Linked DNA regions of Homo sapiens: region 2 is linked to region 1. The links are contacts of gene promoters, found by promoter capture Hi-C in blood cells and fetal thymus (Javierre and others, 2016). All regions are on one chromosome and are shown on one strand. Each heading gives the region's core, a stretch centred on a gene start or on the middle of the fragment in contact. The rest is flanking DNA. Distances are from core to core; before and after follow the strand shown. Region 1 holds the start of LINC03041 (long intergenic non-protein coding RNA 3041). Region 2 overlaps BNC2 (basonuclin zinc finger protein 2).

The links. The method cuts DNA at HindIII sites, captures the fragments that hold promoters and counts their contacts. A CHiCAGO score of 5 or more calls a contact.
Region 2: a fragment that was not itself captured here is called in contact with the fragment with the promoter of LINC03041 in region 1 in 1 of 17 cell types (M1 macrophages); the score reaches 6.5 in M1 macrophages.

The regions. Positions count from the first base shown.
Region 1 is chr9:16,274,776-16,278,405 of GRCh38, forward strand. LINC03041 (long intergenic non-protein coding RNA 3041) reads right to left here and starts at 1,538. Exons shown (of 4, transcript NR_171034.1): 1 at 1,456-1,538. The HindIII fragment of the contact is 10,629 bases long and covers 1-3,630 here.
Region 2 is chr9:16,589,511-16,593,140 of GRCh38, forward strand. All of the region lies in intron 3 of BNC2 (basonuclin zinc finger protein 2), which reads right to left. Among named protein-coding and RNA genes, the nearest start is that of BNC2-AS1, 140 kb to the right of the region's middle. The HindIII fragment of the contact is 212 bases long and covers 1,723-1,934 here.

The DNA.
Region 1 (3,630 bases), core at 288-2,787:
TTTAACAGATGGGCTCCTCCCTGGCTAAATGACTCCCCAAGACTGGGGAAAGAAATAAGACTTGAACTGTGACCTATGGTGGAGATATGGCCCTATCTGAGCCCGATGCTCTGGGTGACCTCAGATGGGCACTGCTACGTGGCTGTCTATGTGGCTGACACCACACACTATGGCTAGAGAGGTTCTGCCAACCCAGCTGGGGTAGAGGAATTCAGAGTTCTTCTCACCACCCTTGGCTAGTGTCAACTTCTATCAGATTTCATTTCACTTTAGAAAATATGGAAATGTGGCATTTCATACATTCCTGGGATGTGGAACGTTCCTACCTGTTTCGTAAGTAGTACTATGATATATAATTCTACAGAAATATGTCACCATTTTTATCATTATTTTAATAGATTTCTAGCAATAGGTCAAAAGATATACACATTTTAAGGTTCTTTATATAAATGATAAAATTAGCAGATTCCTAGACCTGTAAGCAAAAGTATATATAAGACGCTAGATTCATCATAAAGTCTCCCTTTGGCCTCTGCCCCCAAACCATCCCAACATACCAACTCCTAAACATCCAAGGCCCACGGGAGCACATCCAGGCACTGGCTGGGCCCTCATCAAGGAAACCAGCAGTGTGCAGGCTACACTGCATAACTGCGGGGACAGGCAGGGCCTGGACACATACACACCAGCTCCACCACCCACAGTTTGGGTGAGCTTGTGTAGTTACTTCCTGGGGCTCCCATACAAAGTATCACAGGCTAAGTGGCTTCAACAACAAACATATATTGTCTCATGGTTCTGGAAGCTAAAAGTTCGCTATCAGGCTGTTGGCAGGGTTGGCTCTTTCTGAGGACTGTGGGGGAAGGATCTCGTCTAGGCCTCCCTCCTAGAAATCGCTGGCATTCCTTGGCTTACAGATGGCTGTCCTTCCTCTTCTCCCTGAGTCTTCACATGGTCTTCCCTCTGTGTCCAAATCTCCCTGGTTTTTCTACCAGTCATATTGGATCAGGACCCATCCTAATGACTCCTTCCTAACTTGATCATCCACAAAGACCCTTTTTCCAAATAACGTCACATTCACAGGTGGGGAAGGTTAGGATTTCAACACATTTCTTGGGGTCAGGGACACAATTCAATCCATAATACCTTGGCAAGTCTCCTATACTCTCTAACGCACTGTTTCCAGATCACGTCAACAGGGATGACACTGCCTTTCCCACTGCGAGGATTCAATTTAGATGACAAGTGAAAAGATAGGTCAATGATAGGTAGAGCATTGACCCAGTGTCTGGCCCATGGTTGTTGTTCAATAAACATTGGCTAAGTTATCAATGAAAATTCTTGCTATAAGTATCTCATGACACACACGTGGGATACACAGAAACCCATGCTCAACTGGGCAGGCACGTGTGTTTATGTGGCTCCCCAGTGTCCCTAGAGAAGATTCTCTCTTACTTTTCAGGTGTCTTTGGCCTTTTCCTCTTCCAGCCTCTACAAGCAGGTTGTTTGCCCAGACACAGACCTCTCTCCCACAAAGCCCACTTTGGAGATTGGCGCCCGCCTTCTGCTGCTAGTTAGTTGTTTGAAAAGTGCTGACGCTTCTCTTCATCCACCGTGCCAGGACTCCGTGCCAAAGCCGCCCACACAAGCAAGGCTCGCCCTGCATGCCAGGGTTTCAGAAAGTGGACCTGGCACCAACCAAGCGTAGAAAGAGAGGCCCTTGTGATACAGCCTCCCGACACACTCACACACACACACATACCAGCCAGAGACCAGAGACCCCAATCAGTACTTTTAAAAGGAATAAAAATTGCTCAATCTCTTTGATGATATTCAAAGAGTCTTTTTTAATATATGAAGAAGCACATTCTAAATTCTTAACACATCTGGTGTCACCCGCTCTTTTCCCCCTCTAAACCCTCTTAATTCCATAATTTAGAAGGTCTTAAGATACCGAAGGATCTCACTGAGGCATAATTGGATATCTTGTGCGTTCCAAGTTGCATCTGATGTCCCACCTCATCCCAGAAACTTTTCCACTGAGTTGGAGAGAAAAGATTTGGGGGTTCGGGGAGCAAGGACGGTGCTCTGCCTGCTCAAGTGGGCTTTGACAGAAAAGCTGAGCTGCCTGCAGGAAAATGTTTGCTATTCATTTTGCCCTGACACTCCAGGAGAGAAAGCACAATTTCTTTTGTGATTGGAGGTAATGTAATCTACAGGAAAATCAATGTGGGCTGACGGGAGAATCGCCCAGCTGATCTGCAGACCAGAGACACTGAATCACAGCAGCTGAAAGCGGCATGGCAGTGAGGCCGTTCCTGCAGCCTCCGGGAGAAAGTGGTCTTGGAAAGCTCACACCCTGGGGTGCTCCTAACCTCAAAGGAGCCCGTGGACCCAGCCGCCCAAGCCACCAAGAGTTAAGTGGCAAAGTGCTCAGTTGTGGGGACAGTGCTGGGGGTACAGAGGGCCACAACGTGCTCTGCTGGGTTACTGAGAACAGAGAGATACATACAGAAGAAGGAAGACAGACAGAGGACCTAAGATTGTAAGATACAGACAGAAAGAGATAGGGAGGGAGCAAGAAATAGACACACACACACACGCATGCACACACACACACACACACACAAAACAGGGACCTCTGTTTCAAATTGTCCCCTACTACAAATTGTCCTTTACTACTTTTTAAATTAAAAATTCAGACAATGTCCCCACCATCCCCAAACAGCAATTACTTTAGTAATCAGGAAAGAAAATGTTGCAAAAATAAATAAATAAATAAGATAGACTTAACAAAAAATAACTCTCGCCACCCAAGAAACATCTGCGCATCTGCTGGCCCCTTACTGGTCTGGTTCAGCTGACTTCAGCACTCACAGCAGCAGCGGCGGCGGCAGCAGCACCAGCAGCAAAGTTAGCAGGTGTCACCCCAATGTGGCCGCAAACCGCTTCTCAGGATTCAGAGACATAAATCAGAACAACAGGCCCATACTACCCCCTTCCCATATGTCCCCTGTACCTAAGCCACAACCACTCACAGGCTTCTGGCCCCTGGACGCTTGCTTTAAGGCATTACAAACACCCACCCCCCAACTTTGGAGGTGAGGGTGCTTTTCTAGAATCTCTGTAACCTTTCTGGGTAGTCAAACCACCTGGTCATTTATTATTAATACCTGAAGCATGTGGAAAATTGCATTTGGGAAAGGAGTGTGTTAACTAACAACTAGAGCCCAGACCTGGAGTGCTGGGAGAGAGGCTGGTGGTTCCCACTGGTACCCGTTGGTGCCCATTGCTAATCTCTGACACGAGGAGGCTGGAGAGGCCCAGGGTGGGATGGGGCAAAGAATTGCTGATACATGCAGGCCTCTCGGTGGCCCCCTCCCTCCTGCCTATAACAAAAACCCTTCCCCCATCTCTCCTTCTGCCTGGAGTGTATAACAGGCCTCTTCTACCCCCTCGCGAACTTCCTGGCAATGGCTTCCTATTTCACCTATTATGTTCCTGGCAGAAACTTTTAAGGCCACCGAGGCAGCAGTCTCAAACACAGTCTTTTCAAAGACTTGGGGGCAATTCCGAGCCTGAATTGGCTCTGTTTTGTTTCCCTGTACAGTCCCCGCTCTGCAGTGGAGC
Region 2 (3,630 bases), core at 579-3,078, 320 kb after region 1:
TTGTTTGTTTGTTTTTGAGACGGAATCTCACTCTGTCACCCAGGCTGGAGTACGGTGGTGCAATCTCAGCTCACTGCAACCTCCGCCTCCAGGGTTCAAGTGATTCTCCCACCTCAGCCTCCTGAGTAGCTGGGATTACATGCACGCACCACCACACCGGGCTAATTTTTTATATTTTTAGTAGAGACAGGGTTTCACCATGTTGGTCAGGCTGGTCTCAAACTCCTGACTTCGTGATCCACCCGCCTCGGCCTCTCAAAGTGCTGGAATTACAGGCGTAAGCCACGGTGCCTGGCCCTAAAAACCTTTTTAACTCTTCTTTCCCCTTGTTAATTTCTGGAGAGTATAGCAAGATTTACAATATGAATTATGAAATTTTAAAATATTTTAAAATGCTTAATAGTTAAGTACATGACCTACATTAATATTAAATTATAGAAAAAGCTAGTCATTAACATAAGCAGCCACTCAGGTGTGGTGGCTTAAACCTGTAATCCCAGCACTTTGGGAGGCTGAGGCAGGAGGATGGCTTGAGCCCAGGAGTTCGAGACCAGCCTGGGCAACATGGCAAAACCCGGTCTCTACAAAAAATATAAAAATTAGCCAGTATGTACAGCGGTAAAAGAAAATGCATCACAATAATTAATAAAATGCTCTAATGGAGGGAAAAGAAGAAATTTTTTTTTAATTTTTCTTTTTGAGACAGAGTTTTGCTCTTGTTGCCCAGGCTAGAGTGCAATGGCACAATCTTGGCTCGCTGCAACCTCCGCCTCCCAGGTTCAAGAGATTCTCCTGCCTCAGCCTCCCACGTAGCTGGGATTTCAGGCGCCCACCATCATGGCTGGCTAATTTTGGTATTTTTAGTAGAGACAGGGTTTCACCATGTTGGCCAGGCTGTTCTTGAATTCTTGACCTCATGTGATCCACCTGCCTCGGCCTCCCAAAGTGCTAGGATTACAGGCATGAGCCACTGTGCCTGGCTTAAAAAAAGAAAATTTGTTCTTCAAAGACATTTCTATCCTAGCAGGGAATAGTGGCTCATGCCTGTAATCTCAGCAATTTGGGAGGCCGAGGAGAGCACATAGCTTGAGCCAAAGACCAGCCTGGACAACATGGCGAAACCTCGTCTCTATAAAAATATGAAAAATTCGCCGGGCGTGGTGGCATGCACCTGTGGTTCTAGCTACGCGGGAGGCTGAGGCGGGAAGACTGCTTGAGCCTCAGAGGTCAAGGATGCAGTAAACCATGATCATACCACTGCACTCCCAGCCTGGATGGAAGAGTGAGACCTTCATCTCACACACACACACAAAAGACGTCTATCCTAGTGGACGAAAATCTGGAATAGCAAATTATCTGTAATGAATCTGAAAGCTAATTATTCCAGGATTGCCATAGAATACACTGCAATAAACAAACTAATGGCTTGCTAGCATTGTGGATGCAGAGAGTGATCTTATAAACATGACCAAAAAGATGAAACAAGCACTTTTATATAGGTTGTGTATGATATGCTAAGACAGTACTTCAAACATTGCCACAAAGACTAAAAAACTCACATGATAGTAATGGTGATTAAGTCAGCAAATATCTCCCTGTATAATTTTCAGAATTTATATAATACTGCCTTGGGAGAAGAAATCAGCTTCCTAACTGGCCACATCACAATACAGCTTGAGCGAAAAAATTCTGCATTTTTTCTTGCACGGTGGACAACTACTAAGCTTACTTAAGACCAGCATGAACTACAAGACTACATATCAATTTCACTTGTACTTGATTACAAAACTCATCTATGACGAATGTAAAAGAATATCCACCTGTTGTACTGAAGAGTTTTGCAACCAAGTATCAAAAGGAGACAAGGAAGAGGTGAGTCAGAAAGATACAGAACATGGGTCAAAAGATCTACGGTTTTAAACATCCCACAAAAAAGCTTTATTAACAACCTAAAACGTCTATCTAATTCTGACCATGAGAGTATTAATATAAATCTATAGTTTTAGTAAGGTGGGTATGTTTTCTCCATTTATACAAAGAAATACATAAATCTAAGTCTGAATGAACAATGCACACAGAATTTACATGCTATGATTATCAGTGATTATAAAACTGATTATAAATGTTAAGGGTCCACAAGCATGTTAAACCATAGTGCAAATGTCACTACTCCTAATGTAATAGTAACAGCAGCAAATGAGAAACAATGAAGTTATTCTGTCTCCTTAAAAAAATCTACTCAAACATTCATATGATGGAAAATTATACCTAAAAGTATGTCTCTTATTTGGTGGTAACCAGAAAATTAAAAATTAATTAACAATTCAAAGAAAGGTCCTTACATTTGTCTAATTGTTTTTAATGTCATATGAAGAAATAGCAAGCTGGTAAAAAATGATTATTTTGTTGTACTTAATGTGTTCTGAAATTTCTTGGTGTCTTCTCAACGAAAAAACACATTAGATCTTATAACTGAGACAGGAGATTCGCAAGAGCCTGGGTTTGCTGGACTCACTAAAAGGCCAGGTACCATTGGTTTAAACTGCAGGCAACATGGTAAAAGACAAAAAGCTGGGCAATTTAAAGATGGTTAACCACCCCTCCCCTCCCCCCAAAAAAAACCTTGAGAAAAATGTTATGAACCAAAGAAATACATCATCTTCACAATAAACACATCCAAAATAATCGAAAGAGATTCACTGGGAAAAGTTGACCTTTGAACATCAAATGATGTTAAAAATCAGGAGATTTAAAACTTCATTTTATAAAACGCTATCCCTCCATCCACTGACAAATGGATAAACAAAATTCAGTATATTAATATAATGAAATTTTATTTGGCCATAAAAAGGAATGAACCACGGATACATACTACAACATGAATGAACATGAAAAACACTAAGCTGAGTTGCAGGAGCCAGTCATAAAAGACCAAATATTATTATTCCATTCAGATGAAATGTTCAGAAGAGGGAAATATGTAATGATAAAAAGTAGATTAGTGGCTGCCTTGTGGGGGATGAGGCTTAGGGTGACAGCTAAAGGGCATGGAGTTTCTTTTTGAGGTGATAAAAATGTTCAGTGATAACTGAACCTAACCATAAATATAGTAAAATACAGTGAGTATTTTAAATGGGTGGAATGTATGGTAAGTGAAACATATCTCAATCAAGCTGTTTAAAACAGGGAAAGGGTGGGAGGAATCCCACTGCCCCACCTACTTTCTTTTAGTGGTGTTAAAACCATTTAATCCCATAAGATATCATTCCCCAGGAGACATAATGCAGCACATCTTTTGCCCAGTAGGTCTCCAATACACAAATGCTAAGTGAGTTAATACACGGACGGTGAACAAAGAAATTTTACTGTTGCTTATATTTGAAAATCCTTTCTACTTTGAAAATATTAAAACCTAATATATCCATTTAAAAATCCACTGCCATTTTTCTATCCGGAAAAATCCAGTACATCTTTCAAATATTTGCGGGGCAAAAAAGCAAAAGCAAAAACAAAAACAAAACTTCTCAGTTATGATGCTCAGCAATATTAATATCAAAGTATTAAAAAAATTCTAAGATAATTTGTTAAAAATTGACAATGCTGAATTCTGTCATGTATACCAGCAAAAAA